Regions from separate parts of the Homo sapiens genome. Here all the other regions are linked to region 1. The links are contacts of gene promoters, found by promoter capture Hi-C in blood cells and fetal thymus (Javierre and others, 2016). All regions are on one chromosome and are shown on one strand. Each heading gives the region's core, a stretch centred on a gene start or on the middle of the fragment in contact. The rest is flanking DNA. Distances are from core to core; before and after follow the strand shown. Region 1 holds the start of CDK5R1 (cyclin dependent kinase 5 regulatory subunit 1). Region 2 overlaps MYO1D (myosin ID). Region 3 overlaps MYO1D (myosin ID).

The links. Contacts are between HindIII fragments. The CHiCAGO score rates a contact against its expected background, and 5 or more counts as called.
Region 2: a contact is called between a fragment that was not itself captured here and the fragment with the promoter of CDK5R1 in region 1, in 16 of 17 cell types (M0 macrophages, megakaryocytes, total CD8 T cells and 13 more). The highest score is 40.2, in M0 macrophages.
Region 3: a fragment that was not itself captured here is called in contact with the fragment with the promoter of CDK5R1 in region 1 in 14 of 17 cell types (naive CD8 T cells, naive CD4 T cells, megakaryocytes and 11 more); the score reaches 16.7 in naive CD8 T cells.

What each region holds. Positions count from the first base shown.
Region 1 is chr17:32,485,335-32,488,842 of GRCh38, forward strand. CDK5R1 (cyclin dependent kinase 5 regulatory subunit 1) reads left to right here and starts at 1,659. Exons shown (of 2, transcript NM_003885.3): 1 at 1,659-1,828; 2 at 2,142-3,508. The coding sequence starts at 2,287. The coding sequence ends at 3,210. RefSeq lists enhancers at 445-946, 2,186-2,745 and silencers at 1,019-1,548, 1,659-1,918, 2,009-2,298. The HindIII fragment of the contact is 10,728 bases long and covers 1-3,508 here.
Region 2 is chr17:32,755,901-32,759,376 of GRCh38, forward strand. All of the region lies in intron 10 of MYO1D (myosin ID), which reads right to left. Among named protein-coding and RNA genes, the nearest start is that of MYO1D-DT, 120 kb to the right of the region's middle. The HindIII fragment of the contact is 1,200 bases long and covers 885-2,084 here.
Region 3 is chr17:32,775,325-32,778,738 of GRCh38, forward strand. MYO1D (myosin ID) reads right to left here. Exons shown (of 22, transcript NM_015194.3): 3 at 3,156-3,249; 4 at 540-705. Among named protein-coding and RNA genes, the nearest start is that of MYO1D-DT, 100 kb to the right of the region's middle. The HindIII fragment of the contact is 2,256 bases long and covers 663-2,918 here.

The DNA.
Region 1 (3,508 bases), core at 409-2,908:
TCTTCTGGCTTCTTACTGTTACATGCAGGAGGGTTGAGGACAGCTCCATTTGAAGAGCAGGTAGGCTTGTACACTGAGGAACATTCACAGGGAGGGGCGCACTGAGCTGGGGGCCTGCCTTCCTCTTCTGAGTTCCCATAACAGCTGTTGTGGATGTTCTGAAAGGCTGTGGACAAAGTAGCCCTCTGGGTACAGAGCAATGCATTTTCCACTGTATGCCTTGCCCCCCAAGGTTCCTAAAGCCTGGAATTCCTATTGACAGAAATCTGAGTGGCACATAAACAAAACCCAGCACTTTCTGCCTTGATTGCACCATTTTGAATGATGCCAGATTCCCTTTCTGTTCCCCCTAGGACAGTTGACAGGGCTGGTGAAAGCCTAGTCGGCTGGAGTGGTCAGGTAACTGGGTGGCATCCTCTCCTCTGGAGAGCCACTCCCTCATCTCTAGGTCCAGAGATAATCTGGATTAAGACAGGGCTTAAGTTTCCTGTTTCCCAGGTTTGTGGTCAGTTTTGACTCGATCTCCAGAAACAAGGTAAAATAGTAAATGAACAACAGCCTTTGTGAAGGATCTGGATTCACATCTGACAGGAACAGCTTTCAGAAACAGAATTTTACTCAATTTCGCTAGCATCAAGTTCTCAAATTATACATACTTAGAATTGAAAACGTTTAAGAGGGTCAGAAAGCTGGCCGGAGGGGCAGTTGCTTCAGCTTTAATATGACAAATAAGAGGGCGAGTGGGAACTTAGAGGTCATATTTGTGACGGGCTCAGGCTTGGCTACGGGCCACGCTTCTCTGGCTTGGATCTCTGAGGCCCACTTCGGCCGCGGTCATCTACCCATGATGAGGGAACGGAGGCCCCGGAGGGGTGGCCAGAACCGATTGGACTGTCCACTCGAGGTGCGCGTGGCACTCGGGAGGCCTCAGTAAAGGCGTCGCCTCTCCCCGCCCAGGGCCTTCTTCCCCGCGCTCCCTGGCTGCTTTCCACAGGGACGGGGATGTCAGGTGGAAGGAGGGAGCTCCGGACCCTGGCCTCGGCGGAGGGCTCCTCACCAGGCCAGGGCGGCAGCCTCAGAGAGGGCGGGCCGCGCGCTGCCAGGGCAGGGACTCGGCCGAGAGTGCCCCCGCGGCCGGCAGCTGCGGGCGCCGCGGCGGGAACAAAGGCAGCACGTGTCTGGGCGGGACGCGGGCGGGGTCGGCCCTCGGCTCCGCCCTGCTCGGCGCCCGCCCCGCGTCGGCAGAGTTGGGTTGCGCGGGCGCCGAGGACTCTCCGGCGGCCGGGCTGCTGTTGGGCGGCGGCGCGGAGCGGGCGGCGAGCTGTGCGGGAGGGGCGGCCCCGAGGGGCGGGGCGGGCCGACGCCGCGTGTCCCGCCGCAGCCGCGGAGTCCGGCTCCTAGATGGGGCCCGGCGCGTAGAGGTGCCTCCCGCTCGTTGCCGCGTCCTACCCGCACCGTGCGCGGCTCGAGCTGAGGACACCAACGGCCGCGACTCCCCGGCGAGACCAGGCCGGAGCGTGGACGGCGCGCGCGCCCCGCGAGGGAGGGCGCTGAGGCGCGCGCCGGAAGCGGGAGCGGGAGCGGGAGCGCGGCGGCGGCGGCGAAGGTGCGGGCGGCCGAGCGGGGGGCGGGGCTGCGGTGCCTGCAGAACCTTGGACAGAAGCTCCCTAGCTGCCGCCGCCGCCGCCGCCGCCGTCGCCGCCGCCGAGCGCGAGCCCAGCCGATCCCCGCCGAGCGCCCCCGAGCGCCGCCGAGCGCCGGGACCGCGGCGGCGGGGCCGCGGCGCGCATTGCGGAGGGCGCGGAGCGCAGGAGCTGCCGCCTGCCGGGTAAGCCTGCGCTGGGCGGCCGTCCTTGGCCCTGGGGAGCGGAGACCGGGGTCGCGCCCGTGCGGGGTGTCCAGGCGGGGGTCCTCGGCCGCCTCCGTCGGCGACCGGGCCCCTCCCGGCTGCGCCTGGGGACCGCAGCGGCGGCGGCGGGCGGGGGTGCTGCAGTGGAGGCGGCGAGGCTGCGTCGCGGGGGCGCGGGTAGGGCCCGGGACTGGGGCGGCGGGGTGCGCCGAGGCGCGGGGCGGAGGGGCGCAGGGGCGCAGGGGCGCGGCGCGGAGCCCAGCCTGGCGCTAAGAACCATCTTGTTTTCCAGGCAGATCCAAGGGGGCAGCACGCTTCCCGGGAGCGCCCCCGCCTCCTCTCCGGGGCCGCCGCAGGCTCGGTGAGCGGTTTTATCCCTCCGGCCGGCAGGCTGGGCGCGCAGGGGCGCGAGCCCCCGCCCGGCGCGCAGCAGCACCATGGGCACGGTGCTGTCCCTGTCTCCCAGCTACCGGAAGGCCACGCTGTTTGAGGATGGCGCGGCCACCGTGGGCCACTATACGGCCGTACAGAACAGCAAGAACGCCAAGGACAAGAACCTGAAGCGCCACTCCATCATCTCCGTGCTGCCTTGGAAGAGAATCGTGGCCGTGTCGGCCAAGAAGAAGAACTCCAAGAAGGTGCAGCCCAACAGCAGCTACCAGAACAACATCACGCACCTCAACAATGAGAACCTGAAGAAGTCGCTGTCGTGCGCCAACCTGTCCACATTCGCCCAGCCCCCACCGGCCCAGCCGCCTGCACCCCCGGCCAGCCAGCTCTCGGGTTCCCAGACCGGGGGCTCCTCCTCAGTCAAGAAAGCCCCTCACCCTGCCGTCACCTCCGCAGGGACGCCCAAACGGGTCATCGTCCAGGCGTCCACCAGTGAGCTGCTTCGCTGCCTGGGTGAGTTTCTCTGCCGCCGGTGCTACCGCCTGAAGCACCTGTCCCCCACGGACCCCGTGCTCTGGCTGCGCAGCGTGGACCGCTCGCTGCTTCTGCAGGGCTGGCAGGACCAGGGCTTCATCACGCCGGCCAACGTGGTCTTCCTCTACATGCTCTGCAGGGATGTTATCTCCTCCGAGGTGGGCTCGGATCACGAGCTCCAGGCCGTCCTGCTGACATGCCTGTACCTCTCCTACTCCTACATGGGCAACGAGATCTCCTACCCGCTCAAGCCCTTCCTGGTGGAGAGCTGCAAGGAGGCCTTTTGGGACCGTTGCCTCTCTGTCATCAACCTCATGAGCTCAAAGATGCTGCAGATAAATGCCGACCCACACTACTTCACACAGGTCTTCTCCGACCTGAAGAACGAGAGCGGCCAGGAGGACAAGAAGCGGCTCCTCCTAGGCCTGGATCGGTGAGCACTGTAGCCTGCGTCATGGCTCAAGGATTCAATGCATTTTTAAGAATTTATTATTAAATCAGTTTTGTGTACAGTATGTGTCTAGCAAAGCCACCAAGGGCCTCACCTTTCCCACAGTCTCTCCCTGGGGTTTTTTTCATCCCTGCCAAGAACTCTGGGCACTTTTGAACTCACGAGCCTTGCGCAAAACCCAGAAGATGTATTCAGAGCCACCCAGGCCACTGACCTCCCACTTTGGGGAACTCAAAGGACTGACCTGCCCCTGCCGCCTGTGCCCTTGCTGGGTCCAGGGTAGG
Region 2 (3,476 bases), core at 235-2,734, 270 kb after region 1:
AAAGATAATAAGGTAGACACCATTTCTCCCATTACAAACTCATTTTAATCCTGCCTCCAGATCCCACACCCAACCCTACTCCTTCATACCAATCTGCCTGCCATTAACTGTAAGGTCCACCTTCCACAAAGGGCCAACAAATAACCTTAAAGTATTATCTGATATACTACTTCATAATAAAGTTAAGGTACTACACAAAACTTGCAATTTTATAAAAGTAGGGTACAAGTTAAATGTTTAGTTCTAGAAATTTTGTGCAATATGTTCATAACGATGGCTGCAGTTGCCACAAAGTGCCTCGTTTACCTTTAAATACTGTTAATGTGTCACGCATGCAGATGGAAGGGGTGGAACTGTGCACTAAAGTGGGGGCTTTAACTGTAGTGTTTGGCAGAGTTGCCTTCTACCTGCCAGTTCAAAAGTTCTGTTTTCATGCAGAATATATATACTAAAAAATTTCAGTCTTTTAAACAGCCTTACTCTGATTCAGCCTCTTCAGATACTCTTGTGCTGTGCAGTAGTGGCTCTATGTGTAAATGCCATGCACTGAGGGTACACAAAAATATCAACATTATGTGTACAGGATAATGCCTCATCCCAATCAGATGTCCATTTGTCATTGTGTTTGTTAACAACCCTTTATCTCTTAGTGTTAAATAAACTCCACTTAAAACGGAAAAAAAAAAAAAAGAACTTGCATTTTTAGTTACATGACCCTGAATGACTAAAATCCAAAAGAGCATTTCTTTTGGTTTCCCCAAAGTTAAAAAGCTTCAATAGAATTTTGAACAATTTGAAAAAATTCAGTAGAATTTTTACATTTTTCTAGGCATAATATAAAGAATTTAATTCTGAGAAATAAATATCTATAAAAGATAAGAAAAAGCTTTTCCTTTACTTCCACAAGGTGAATGAAGTTATAAATAACTTCTGGCTTTTCAGCAACTATACATGTACAAGGTTTGTCCAACAATCCTCTGCCACACCTGTTTATTCTGACAGCCTGCAATGTACCTATCACTACACACAGAAGGCACACAAAGAAAGGCCAACTCAGGCAAGCTGCACATCTCAAAGAGGGGCAGCTTATGATCACACAGTTTAATCTTGCTATGTCCCATCTTACGCAGGAGTTACCTAAACTGATTGCTGTCTCCATTACCTTCTATAAGGTCTATATACTCATAATAGACCATTCAAGTGACTCATGTATTCCCATTTCATGCTTTAAAATCCAAGGTTTTATGCCAGTTATTTGTACATGGCTTTTAGCTCCATTTCTAGTCTTGCATGTTCTCTTCTGTATCTTATGGACTGAAACCTGTAAACTGGGTAGTTTTTACTTTGTTTTTTATACTTTTCTGATCTGTCTAAACTAAAGTTTCTCAAATAGGGGAATAGGGGGAATTTTGCTCACCAGGGGACATTTGGCAATATCAGGAGACATTTCTAGTCAAAATGGGGTAGGGGTGCTACTGTCATTTGGTGGGTAGAGGCCAGGGGTGCTGCTAAACATCCTACAATGCATAGAACAGCCTCCACAACAAAGAACTATCTGGCACAAAATCTCAGTAGTACTGAGGTGAAGCAGTGTAGGTCTAAATATTTACTTTCATTATGGGCATTTATTACATTTCTAATTAGGGAGAAAAGTTATTTCCATCTTTGGAAAAAAAATCCTAAAAATACTCAAAAAGCAGGAGCTCTATATTAATAGTTGACATCTTAGACTTCGGGACTGTGAAATTAAAGACGAAGTCTTTTGTCCCAGGGACTAAAGAATTACCTTCCCTAAAATCCCAATTATATTATTAAAAGCTATTGGTCTCTGCTAGTAACTTTCAGTTTGTAAGTTTAATACTGCTTCAAACATTGCTTAAACCAGTAGTTTTCAAACTAAGTTCTTCCAGCAACTTGGCATTCCCGTAAGGTTTCCTAAGGGATACCAGGAGCCAGAAGACTTGTGATGGGGTAGCTTAGGGACATGGGGCTCTGGCCTTTCATACCCACTCCAGATAAAACAGCTTTGTGCTTGAGTATCAAGTTCTCAATAGTTAAAATGATTTGCAAACTACAGCATCGAAAGCTTTTAAAAGTGAATGTACCAGATAACCAGACATTATGAACCTCCTGGTGGAAGTTCACACACAGTCTATGAAATGGGCTGTGGAAAAAAACTGACTCTGAATCCAGTCAAGACTCTAGATCTAACAACCAATATACAGGACATACAAGAAACAGAGAAACATATTAAATGGCACCTGAGGAATGCAATTAGCAAAATCCAGACTGTGGGGAACTCCATAACAAATGACTCATTCTCTTCAACACAAGATTGCAAAGAGAGATCATTCAAGGAAAAAAAGAAACATGGAGAAAATCTATAGATATGCAAGAGACCTATCAATCAATCATAATGTAAGAAACTTATTTGGATCCAAATTTAACCTGCAAAACAACAACCAGAAGACAATTAAGGAAATATGAAACATGTATACTGACTGGATATTTTATGATATTAAGGAATTTTTGTTAATGTTTTAGGTATGATAATGGCATTGTGATTATGGTTTTTGTAAAACTCTCTTAGAGAAATACATGGAAATATTTACTGAATAGATACCCAATTGAATAGATGAAATAATGTGATATCTGAAATTTGCTTCAAAATAATCTGGGAGTAGGTGGGTATAGTACAGATGGCATAAGACTGGCAATCAACTGGTACGTGTTAAAGCCAGGTGATGGGTATATAGGGTTTACTGTACTATAGTCTGTCTTCTTAATGTGTGTTTAAAATTTTCCATAATAAAAAATCTTTTAAAAAGAATCACTATGTTTAGAAGTTTGGGGTTTTACCCAGAATAGAGATTCTAATTGTGGGGGGATCTGCCATGTAGTAAGTAACTGTTACCTTGGAGTTAGCCTTCTGCTCCCTCTAGGACAAATAGTTCTTGGTTTATTTAGCGAAAATTTTTTGCATTTTGGGATTCTTAATTCTTTTTGAGATGTTTGGAACAGTCCACTGCATTACTTACCCTGTTGTCAATTATGTCTGTGAAATTTGATATTCTGATTGTGAAAGGATATTTTTGACTAGTACCTTGGAATCACATTTGAATAACAAGTTTTATGATTAAATTTGGTATTAAAAATCCAAGCTTCAGTTATACCGTGTATTATATTATACAACAGTTTCATTCTTAGAAAGCTTCATATACACTTAATTGAACTGAATTAAATTTTAATTGTATTAGGAGAGTTCATTATTTAAGTCAAACTATAGATAATTCTTATATAAAATAGCCCTTTGGTTTATATGCAGATAGGTAAAATTTATGCCAATATACCTGAGCAACTGTTTTATGGTATTCTAACGTTTAACACATGATGGAAGGCAGATACAATTTTGAGGCGGGAAAGCTATTTGTTATATCACTGTCTCTTTATTTCAGAATGAGAGGAAATAGAAAATA
Region 3 (3,414 bases), core at 541-3,040, 290 kb after region 1:
ACAACCTCTCTGGTGGTCCCAAGAAGAAAATTCTAATTGGAATCCTCTAGAAATTGGGCCTATTTTAAGTTTTTACTGACCAAATACAGTTCGCTTCATAATTAGGATGTAAGATCACAAAATACATATATGTTACTATAAAGCAATGAACAAATAGAAACTAGAAGAAAATGAGATATCAAATTAATTAAAATTAAAATGTATAGAAGATGGTGATGTATAAAAAGGCTAGAACTGATTAGTCTTAGATTGACTTTCGGTTAAACCTTACCCAGAAGCTGGCACACACTCATACCTGTGCCCCCACCCATTCACACGCATAGCTAAATCTATCTACAAAGTCCACAACTTTTTCCAACTTGACAGTGTAAGTGCTAAGAAGAGAAGACAAAAGGAGAATACCTTATCATAAAAAGCTAATGAAGAAGGGAGAATAGGATTTAAAGCTATTTTGAGTCAATAAAATAAATTCTATAAATATAATTTGTTTAAACATTCAGCACTTAAAACATTACCCTCAGAAATTAAGCATATTTTACCTTTTCTAGTAAGTAGTTATTGATATGCCCACCAATAGGGTCACCCTTGAAGTCAAAGTTGATATCCATGTATTTTCCAAACCTGCTTGAGTTGTCATTACGGTTGGTTTTGGCATTTCCAAAAGCTTCCAAAACACAGTTGGACTTAAGCAACATATTCTTCACTCTTTAACACAGATAAATGAAAGTCATTATAAAAACTTATAGAGACTAGAATTTTTTAAAAACTGGATTTTGCTAAACCACATACAAATATTTATACAAAGATGCTAACTCCAGCACTGTTTGCAATATCAAAAAAAAAACAAACAAATTAATGTCCACCAATAGGGATAAAAATAAATTTTTGTTTCCCAATATAATGAAATACTATACAGGTGCTAAAAAGAATGAGGTACATCAATATGTACTCACATGGAAATGTCCAGCATATATTAATGAATATAAAATCAAGTTGTCAAATAACATGCATTGCAGGATCCTTGTGTGTGTATGTGTATGTTCACGTGTGTGTGTGTGTGCATACACATGTATCAGCAAATGCTTAAAAATCTGGAGGGATCAGCACACCTTACTATGGTTATCTAGACAGGAGACTGATGGAATGGGCAAGGTAGGATTTCAGGGAACTTTTACATCTTCAACTTAATTCTGTAATTTTTGTTTTTCATTTTATAAATGTACATATTTTATCTACATAAAGAAAATTTTTAAAAAGATGTGTTCTGAAAAGGGAAAGAATAGGTGATACAGAAAATGATACAATTTTTAAGGCACTTGCTTATAAAACCTGGAATTGTGACATTTTATTGTACTTAGTTATACATCATAAATTTAATCTTCACTAGTTCAGAAATTGCTCATTATTTTCTTTGAAGCTGTATGGAATTTCTCCTTTGTACCAGCCATTTAATGCATTCTTTATTCGACGAATGCTAACTTTCTATACAGCAGTCCCTCCCAATGGATACATTTTAAACTTCATGCTATATCCTTGTTTTCATTCCACTGATAAAATTCTTCTTATACAGGCATACCTGCAGAAATAACTTTGGCCTCTGAAATAACTTGATGTAGAAGATCTACTGTTACTCCCGCTAATACTGGAGAGTTCAACCTTATCGCCTCATAAATGAAAGCATATTTTAAAAATATGTGTGTGGGGGGAAACTGCTTGTGATAAGATATGTTTGTGAAAGACTAGTAAATTTATATATGCCTTACTCTACTATTGTAGGTGTGAAATTAATTTATTTCTCATCTAGTTGCTCTCCTGAGCTCCTAAGGAAATTAAGAAAATTTACACATATCCCTGTCCTTGTCAAACTAGATTGTAAAGTCAGAGTAAGAAGGAGGGATATGTTACAATTAAGAAAAATGCCTCTCCTGGCCCAGCAATGCAGCCCAATATGATGAAAAGAAGAAAGGCTACGCAGGGTAGTGAAGTGTAAGTTCTCTTCTTTTACATCAACCCAATATCCTTTCTTCCTATTTATAAAACTGAAGATTGTTATGTGTAGATGAGGTGGGACTCTTTACTAAATTAGTACTGAGCTTTGAAGTAACCAATTAGGAAAACAGTTTCTCTCTTCAAAAAGGCTGCACCACATAAGAAAGTGAGTCTTGTTGCTTTATAGCTATCATCCATTCATCCCTTAAGTATTTGTTAAGCAAATACTATGTGCCAGCTGCTCCCCTAAATGCTGGGCCCCAGACAGTAGAGATCAGCTTTATTACTCATCTTCCCATGAGCAATAGCACAGTATGGCATGAAATCCTTTTAGAAAATGAATCCTGTTCGGCCGGGCGCGGTGGCACATGCCTGTAATCCTAGCACTTTGGGAGACCGAGGCGGACGGGTCACGAGGTCAGGAGATCGAGACCACAGTGAAACCCCGTCTCTACTAAAAACACAAAAAAATTAGCCGGGCGCAGTGGCCGGTGCCTGTAGTCCCAGCTACTCGGGAAGCTGAGGCAGGAGAATGGCATGAACCCGGGAGGCGGAGCTTGCAGTGAGCTGAGATCGCGCCACTGCACTCCAGCCTGGGCCACAGAGCGAGACTCCATCTCAAAAAAAGAAAAAAAGAAAATGAATCTTGTTCAGAAATTCCACTGTCAGTGGATTCTGAATGTTGTAATGATGATGATGGGAAGGCATGGGTCTGCCTTCCAGAGTCCCACTTCTCTCAGAACACAGTTTTTTAAAAACCCTGATGTGGTGCAAAGAGCAAGGAACCTGTGAGAGTTTGAACAATAAAACCTACCAGTGTAAATTATAACAGCTCTGCTGACCACATTTAAGTCAACAGTAATAAACCAGGATGGGAACACTTTCAACTGTTTCAGAGTAATGATTCTTTTGGTCTCATAATTAGGTAAAGCTTACCATAGTATTATTTTTCTATTAAAAACAAATCTAGAAATGGATACAGTGAAATAAATAAAAGTACAGAGACAATATGCACTTAAGAGAATCAAAGTAGCTTAATCATCAAAAAATGCTCAGCCCATAGGTTTAGACCCCCAAAATGCTCAACCCCTAGAGTTTAGGTCTAGCCAAGTCCATAGAGAAAACAGAGTGCTAAGAATTCCTCCCCATTATTAGAGTGCTCTTACCTTTCAACCTCTGCTCTCTGACTGGGGTTGGTGATGGCCGCAATATACTGCATAATGTACTTACTGGCTTCCGTTTTACCAGCTCCACTTTCCCCTGGGGGGAAAAATTGTTCAGGGCTTAACATAATAATTTAAACCAAGAGTAAGCTAATTTTTAATAGAATAATTTAAAAATCTGATACTGGTGATGCATTTAAAATCCCACATGTTGCACTGTTTCATTTTTTTGCTTTTTTGAGTTATTTCGTCCTGCCTTGAT